Linked DNA regions of Homo sapiens: region 1 is linked to region 2. The links are contacts of gene promoters, found by promoter capture Hi-C in blood cells and fetal thymus (Javierre and others, 2016). All regions are on one chromosome and are shown on one strand. The core of a region is centred on a gene start or on the middle of the fragment in contact, and the rest is flanking DNA. Distances in the headings are between cores, read along the strand shown. Region 1 overlaps LOC400499 (putative uncharacterized protein LOC400499). Region 2 holds the start of LITAF (lipopolysaccharide induced TNF factor).

Region 1 (3,761 bases), core at 184-2,683, 180 kb after region 2:
GCACGGCCAACATGGGGAAACCCCGTCTCTACTAAAAATATGGAATTAGCCAGGCGTGGTGGCACATGCCTATAATCCCAGCTACTTTGGAGGCTGAGGCAGGAGAATTGCTTGAACCCAGGATGTGGAGGTTGCAGTGAGCCGAGATTGCGCCGTTGCACTGCGGCCTGGGTGACAAGAGTGAAACTCCATCTCAAAAGGAAGAAAAGAAAAAAGAAATCTCTGGGGGAGGGGCATTCGAGGCAGGTAAAGAGACTGTGGTATATATACACCATGGAATATTACACAGCCGGAAAAAAGAATGAAATTCTGTCCTTTGCAGCAGCAGGGATGCAATTATCCTAAGTGAACTAGCTCAGAAACAGAAAACCCAGTATCACATGTTCTCACTTGTAAGCAGGAGCTAAACATTGAATACACATGGACATAAAGATGGAAACAGTAAACACTGAGGGCTCCAAAAGGGAGGAGGGTGAGAGGGAGCCAAGGGTTGGAAAATTACCTGCCTGGTATGATGTTCGATATTTGGGTGACAGGGACGCTGGAAGCCCAGTCCCCACCATTACACAATATACCTATGTAACAAACATGCACACTGACCCCCTCAATCTAAAATACATTTTTTAAAAAGAGTATTCCAGGCAGAGGGAACAAGACATGCAAAGGGCCTGGGGCAGGGATGGGTTTGCATGTTTTAGGAATGGCCAAGGAGCCACTGGGCTGGAGCTGGGTGGGTGGGGAATGGTAGGAGGTGGTCTGATCACACAGGGTCAGTCAGGCCACAGGGAGGCGTTTGCATTGTGTTCTATCTGCTACTAGAAGCCTTTGAAGCCATGATCAAATAAATGATGATTTCAGATCCCTCTGGCTGCTGTGTGGGGAGGGACCTACAGGTGGCAGAAGTGAGCAGTGAGGAAGCCCCATAATGGGCAGGGGCAGGGCAATAATAATGCGTGGACCAAGCTGGGGGCAGTAGTGATAGGTTTTAGAGACGTTTAAGAGCAAACTTCCTTCCCCACCCCAGCAGTCCCCCTGCAGTGCCCTCAAGTCACCCTCGGACTGTGGCACCCACCAGCAGGGACGGCGTCCCTCTCCGAACCTTTGCACAGGCTCTTCCATCTGCCTAGAATGCTCTTCCCTGCCTCCTCCCCAAGCTTGCTTCTCTGCGTTCCTTTCTCCCTTGAATGTCTCTTGTGACCATCCTTGTCACCTTATCCCATCATTTTCTGTCCTGTGACTATCTCGACTATCTCCCTGGGAGCCCCTTAAGGGCCAGGACCAGGTCTTGGCTAGCTTTGTACCCAGGCACTCAGCACTGGCTTGGGAGCATGATACCTGCTCGCTACATGATTGAGAAACCGCAATACCAACTGCGTGCCTCCTACAAGCTCCTCTCCACCGTGTAGCCCTGGGCTGAGTGCACCACTTGTATCATCTTGCAAAGGTTGACACTTTCTGGCCTCCATTTTCTAGGAAACTGAGGCTCAGAGAGGTTGAAAAATGCCCAGAGCCACACAGCTTGGCCATGGAATTGAGAAGTGGCTGTTCTGTGCTGTCTCCTGTTGGCCATACTCCCCTCACCTACTCCTCTCCTTTAAATTATCTGCTCATCCTTAGGAAGCATTTGGGTTTTTGATCCCCTGACATATGTCACCATTCAGGAAACTGTAAATGATCCACAAATATTCCCTTTTTCCTCCTCTGCAAGCTTCTCTTCTTTCCCATCCCAGGCAGAAGCATGGGTCGGGTTCCCCCATGACGCCGTCATTCTCTTCCAGCTCAGCGCTCTTCCCAGGGAGCTGTTCCTGCAGACCGCATACGAGCGAGCTCATGGGACCCGTGTCCTGCGCCAGGTGGTGCTGTGGGATGGCCAGGAGGTGGCCCTCACCGGGAGCCTTTCTGGGCCTTTCCCCAAGCCCACCAGGAACCTCAGCCTGCAGGGTGAGTGTGTGAGGGGCTGCAGGCAGGGGTGGCCCAGTCACTCAAGAAATCATCCCTGGCCAGGCGCGGTGGCTCATGCCTGTAATCCAAGCCCTTTGGGAGGCCGAGGTGGGTAGATCACTCGAGGTCAGGAGTTTGAGACCAGCCTGGCCAACATGGTGAAACCCCATCTCTACTAAAAATACAAAAATTAGCCAGGCATGGTGGCAGGCACCTACAATCTCAGCTACTTGGGAGGCTGAGGCAGGAGAATCGCTTGAACCTGGGAGGCAGAGGTTGCAGAGAGCCGAGATTGAGCCAGTGCATTCCAGCCTGAGCGAGAGTGAGACTCGGTCTCAAAAAAGCCATGACTGAGCACCTGCATATCCCAGGTGTAATCTAGGCACCAGGGGTCCATCAGGAAGCAAGATGGCCCAGGTGTCACCCCTCAGGGAGACAGGCATTGAGCAACAAGATGCACATAAGCAAAATAACGTCAAGCATGACCATTTCCACGAGTGGGAAAGGCTGTGAGAGCAAGCAGGGTCTTTGTGGGGTGTGGGCCTCCTTTAGGTGGGGTGGTCTGGGAAGGCCTCTTGGAGGAGGTGACTTCTGAACTGAGTTCTGAAGGATGAGAAGGAGCTGGCAGATCTGAGCAGAGGCACTTCAGGCGGAAGGCCCCACTTGGAAATGAGGTTTGCATGTGGAGCAGCAGCTGCGGGGCTAGCATGGCTGGAATGGGGAGAAGGGATGAGGCGAGGCAGGAGGGCTGGGGGACCCAGGTCATGCAGCGTCTCAGCTCATAGAGAGGAGCTGGGGCTTATCCTGAGTGCAGCCGGGCAGGGAGAAGGGGCCAGGGCGTGGAAGAGGTGGCATCCCTGGGCAGTTGTGGTGCCAGGGGAGCTGAGTGCCGACACAGCGCCAACAACAGCAGCCATGAGCCCCTGGGTCCTCCAGAAACAGGCATCCCTGGAAGGGGCTGTAATTTGTGGCCTGGGCAGCCACAAGACTTAGTTTCTGTGTAAGGAACCTCCTGAGCACAGAGCAGAGCCCGACCCACAGCCTGCCAGGTGTGGAGACAGAGTGCAGACCCCAGCCTGGAGGCACGGCTTACCAGGTGGCCTGATGGAATCCTCCCAGCGTCACATTTGCCACATGTGTGCCCTGGAAGGCAGAGGAAGTGAGCAGGTCCCCAGCAAGCCAAGGCAGTGTGCATGCGTGTATGTGTGTGCTCATGAGTGTATGTGTGCTCATGTGTGTATGTGTGCATGTGTGTGTATACATGCACGTGTGTGCATGCCTGTGTGTGTGTGTATTTGTGCCACCCTTGGTGAGCTACACAGTCTGCAGCCCCACACGGTGTTGACAGTGTTGCAGGTGGGGTCAGCGGGTGGCAGGAACAAAGGGTTCTAGCCCTGCATGTGGTCAGCCTCCCCAGAACCAATGACTGGGTGATGCCCTGAGAACCAGCCAGTGCCAGTGTCTCTGGGCACGGCTCCTGCAGCCCATCTGAACAGGTGGGTGCCCTTTGTACAGAGCTCACAGGTCACCAGCGTGCACAGGGGCCTCGGGCAGCCTCCTGCTGTGGGGTCTGGGAAAGCAGGGCTGCTCAGGGGCCTCAGGAGATGGGGTCAAGTGATGTCGGAGGTCAGGTCAGCTTGACTCACCTGGGGGACAGAGGAAGAAAACCCGGGGTGTGGAGGCCATCTGTTGTTGCGAGGACTCAGCTATGGGGTGTCACCTGTCACATCCAAGATGGAAGGAGAGCACAGGACAGCAGACGGTGGCATGGGGTGTGGGGCTTCCGAGGGGGCACAGGGCACCTGTGCATGTGAGGCCCC
Region 2 (4,013 bases), core at 562-3,061:
CTGTGATATTCTGTCTTAATGTCAGTATAATAATTGGTACCTTTGCAAGCCTTGGTTGCATCCTGAGAATGGAGGAATGGCAGAGGTTGGGTGTAATCCAATTTCCTGTTCTTCTCTTCTCCCTCCCTCCCTCCCTTCCTTCTTTCCTTCTCTTTCTTTTCCCTTTCTTTCTTTCTCTTTCTTTCTTCTTTTTCTTTCTTTTTTTTTTCTTTCTCTTTTCCCTCTTTCCCTCTTTCTTTCTTTGTTGCTTGCTTGCTACAGTGCAGTGGCTCGATTATAGCTCACTACAGCCTCAACCTCCGGAGGTCAAGGAATCCTCCCACCTCAGCCTCCTGAGTAGCTGGCACATGCCACCACTCCACCGCTTTATTATTATTCTTTTAATTAAAAAAATTTTTATAGAGATGGAGTCTCACTATGTTGTCCAGCCTGGCCTTGAACTCCTGGGCTCAAGAGATCCTCTGGCCATGGCCTCCCAAAGTCCTGAGACTATAGGCAAGAGCCACTGCACCCGCCCCCTTCATATTTTAAAAGCAGTAAAATGTTGCCCACACTAATAACATCTACATGGGAACCTCCTATGCTTGGGAGAACTTTGAAATCCCTTCCAACTTGGTAACTCGTCCACGGCTGAGGGTGGCCCGTCAGTGGACATGGCGCAAGGTGGCAAGAACTTGGGGCTGGGGACACTTTGCTGAGGGACCCGGGACAAGCCACACTCCCTATCTGGGCCTCACTATCTTTAGGACCTCGGGTAAAGGCATGGGATTTGGGCACCGGAGGGTTCTAAGATCCAGGTCTTTGCCAGCATGGGGCTCGGAAGCTCCCTGTCCAAATGGCGTTTGTTTGTGGATGGCCACATCATGGTTCTGCCCATCTCCTGACTCTGTGTACTCTGAAAGCCAGGCATGCTTCTTAATTCCCTCTAATGATTTCCCAGAGAGCCTGCTGGATCCAGGCTGCTGCTGTTATCACTGCAGCCGGCCGATGGGGCTCCAAGCAGACGGGCAGATGGCACCCATTTAGGGGCGGATGTGAAATGGGGCTACTGATTTCCAGAGCTTGCTTTCAGTGATGGCTGAGAAAGGCCTACCTGGCGGCACGGACCACCCTGGGGGCACAAAGCGGACAGGCAGCTGATAAGCCTTACCTAATACCTATCCTGTGCTAAAAACTTTACCATCTTCCCAGTTCACTCCCAGTCGGTCTTAGGAGACAGGACCGCTATTGTGCCCATTTTGCAGACAGGAAGCCGAGCTCAGAGAGGATGGGTAACATGCCCGAAGGCACAGAGAGTGTCTTGGTCTGTCCGGACGCGTCTGTAGAGTTACAGGAAGAGAAGGGCCGCCCTCCAGAGGGCCGGGAGCGCCCCAGCGCGGGTCCGGGGTCGAGGTTGGTGGTCCCGCCGCCTGGAAGTGGTGGAGCGGCGCGGGGAGGGGGGAAAGTGGGGAGAGCCGCGAGCGGCAAATCAGGAGGGAGGGCCAGGCTGTCGGGGGCGGACGGGTGGGGCTGGCACCGAGAGGCAGGGGCAGGATAGGAGAGTGGGGGAGACACCAGGTCCGCGCCAGGCGTCTCGGGGGTAAGCCTGGGAAGCTCTGGGGTGGCGAGCGAGCCGGGTGTGGGATGGAGCCTGGGGGCGATCAGAGTGAGGCGGGGAACCGGCGGTGGTCTCGCCTGGGGCCCAGGTGCGGGCCGCGGGGGCGGGAGAAGCCGGAAGCCCAAGCCGGCCGCGCTCCGCCCCGGCGGGTCCAGCCCCCGCCCCCGTCCCCGCCGCCCGGCCCTTTTCTCGGGGCGCCCGAGAGGCCAGCTCAGACCTCCCGGCTCGACAGGCGGCGCGGGCGGCGGTGAGTGCGGCGCGGGGACGCCGGGGCGCGGGGACCAGCGGGAGACAGCGGGGGGCCGGTGGCGCCAGCACCTGCTGGGGGCCCCGGGCACTGAGCCCTTGGCTGGGGCCTCCTGGGATGCCAGGGGGCGCGGGTCGGGTCGCGGGCATCGAGGCGCGGCGGAGGGCGTGGGGGCCCGGCCGGGGCGGGGTCCGGCCTCCCAGCGCTGGTCCCGGCCGCGTCTCCGGTTGGGTTCAGCTCCTGCGTCCCAGAGTGGCCCGATCGCGCGTGGCGGGGTCGTCCGGCCCCCACCCGAACGAGCGCCCTTCGCGGCCCGCCGCGTCCCCCTCCCCGGAGAGGACGGCCCCTGGGCTTTTTAGAAAAAGGCGCGATTCTCTCTAGTGACTCAGGTTGAGATTTCCAGAAATATCCCCCGGGGGTTCAGAAACAAAACCAAAACAAACAAAAAAACCCCAACGAATTCCCAAATGCTATTTGCCAAACATTTGACTTCTAGGGGCGCGGGTACCCGCGTTTCTCTCCCTGCCCCCGCGACTTCGCGCAAGATCCGGGAAGGACACCCGAGGCCCCTGGGAGACCCTGGGGAGGTGAAAATCAGAGAGCGAAGCGGGCCGTGGCCCCTAGGCCTGACCCCTCCCCGCGGGGTAAGGCGGGCACCCCGCGAGCGCAGGGGTCCTCTTACTGCTGATGGCACCCAGCTCTGGGCCCAGACGCCGCTCACCGTCCACCGCCGGTGCTGGGTAGGTGCTGGTGGGACCAGCTGGTGACTGGTGGCAGAAGTGGATCTCGCCCCTCCCTGCCAAGCTAGGCAAATACCCTCCCCGCTCTGGTTTGCAGGTCACTGTGGATAGGTGGTCAGTTGGTGGTGTGCCCGAAGCTCTTCGGGGTCAGGGAGAGGAGGTGATAGGGGAAAGGTGTATGTTCTGGAAGGGCCAGTCATGCTTCAGGGACCAGGCTAGTTGGACCTTCACTGGTTTTCTACTTCCCGACAGTGGAGCTGATGTCACTGGCTGTTGGACTGAGCAGTGGTCACTGGGAAATCTACAGTTTGTGGAAGCCACGGGGTCTTCCAAGCTCCTACCAGTCTTCCCAAAGAGGATGCCTCCCTCCCCTTGGCCTGGTGCACTGGTGCTGGTTCAAAGACTGTCTGAAGCCCAGCTTGGGGTCCTCTTTAGGAAAGCCATGATTTGCCTTAATGTGTGCTTGGCTGCTTCATCTGCCCTCTCACCCCCTGCCTTCTCAGAGTGACTCTTTTTAGGACTTCCTATTTAGGACTAACCCAGATGCCTACAGAGAGAAGTGCAGGCTGGTATCTGGAATTCCACCAGTGTTTTGGTTTTATCAGTTGGAGCAGGATCTAGATGGCGTGTGACTTGCTTTACCTGGCATAGAGTAACACCCATATTGCACTTGGCTTTCTTCTCCACCAGCCCTTGCTCTGGGAACTAAATGTGCACCAAACTCTCTAAGAAACATTTAATTGTAATCTACCATGAGGGAGGCCCATCTCCCTCTTTCCTGTTACTTTAAGGCATGAATAATTGATGCATTTATTCACATTTGAGAAAGTATCTTGTAATGTTTTCACAGATTAAGTGACTGGGTGATTGATCTAAGACGTAGGATCAATTTCTTTCTTTTTTTTTTTTTTTTTTGAGACAGAGTCTCACTGTCGCCTAGGCTGGAGTGCAGTGGTGCGATCTCGGCTCACTGCAACCTCTAACCCTCCCCACCCCACCTCAACCCCCTGCCTGAGTTCAAGCAATTCTAGTGTCTCAACCTCCCAAGTAGCGGGGATTACAGTTGGGTGCCACCATGCTTAGGTAATTTTTGCATTTTTAGTAGAGACAGAGTTTTGCCATGTTGGCCAGGCTGTTTTCGAACTTCTGACCTCTAGTGATCCACCTGCCTTGGCCTCCCAAAATGCTGGGATTACAGGTGTGAACTACCTCACCCGGCCCATTTCTTAAGTCTCTAAAATAGTAGATTGAAGTGTAATTCACTGTCTTTGGGGAATACATTTCCCTTTGTTACTTCCGTTCCTTTTATGGGCGGGCTGTTGAGAAATAAAGCGCTACCCTTGCCGTGTAAAGGATGCAGAAGAATGGCTCCTGGTCCTGAGGGGTTTACGCAATGGGTAGAAAGTAGAAACACACACCGGCGAAAAAG

The links. Contacts are between HindIII fragments. The CHiCAGO score rates a contact against its expected background, and 5 or more counts as called.
Region 1: a contact is called between a fragment that was not itself captured here and the fragment with the promoter of LITAF in region 2, in 4 of 17 cell types (monocytes, M0 macrophages, M2 macrophages and 1 more). The highest score is 7.9, in monocytes.

What each region holds. Positions count from the first base shown.
Region 1 is chr16:11,402,884-11,406,644 of GRCh38, reverse strand. LOC400499 (putative uncharacterized protein LOC400499) reads left to right here. Exons shown (of 67, transcript NM_001370704.1): 48 at 1,779-1,941. Among named protein-coding and RNA genes, the nearest start is that of RMI2, 59 kb to the right of the region's middle. The HindIII fragment of the contact is 554 bases long and covers 1,157-1,710 here.
Region 2 is chr16:11,584,717-11,588,729 of GRCh38, reverse strand. LITAF (lipopolysaccharide induced TNF factor) reads left to right here and starts at 1,811. Exons shown (of 4, transcript NM_001136472.2): 1 at 1,811-1,844. RefSeq lists silencers at 1,458-1,937, 1,968-2,047 and an enhancer at 2,948-3,057. The HindIII fragment of the contact is 18,010 bases long and covers 1-4,013 here.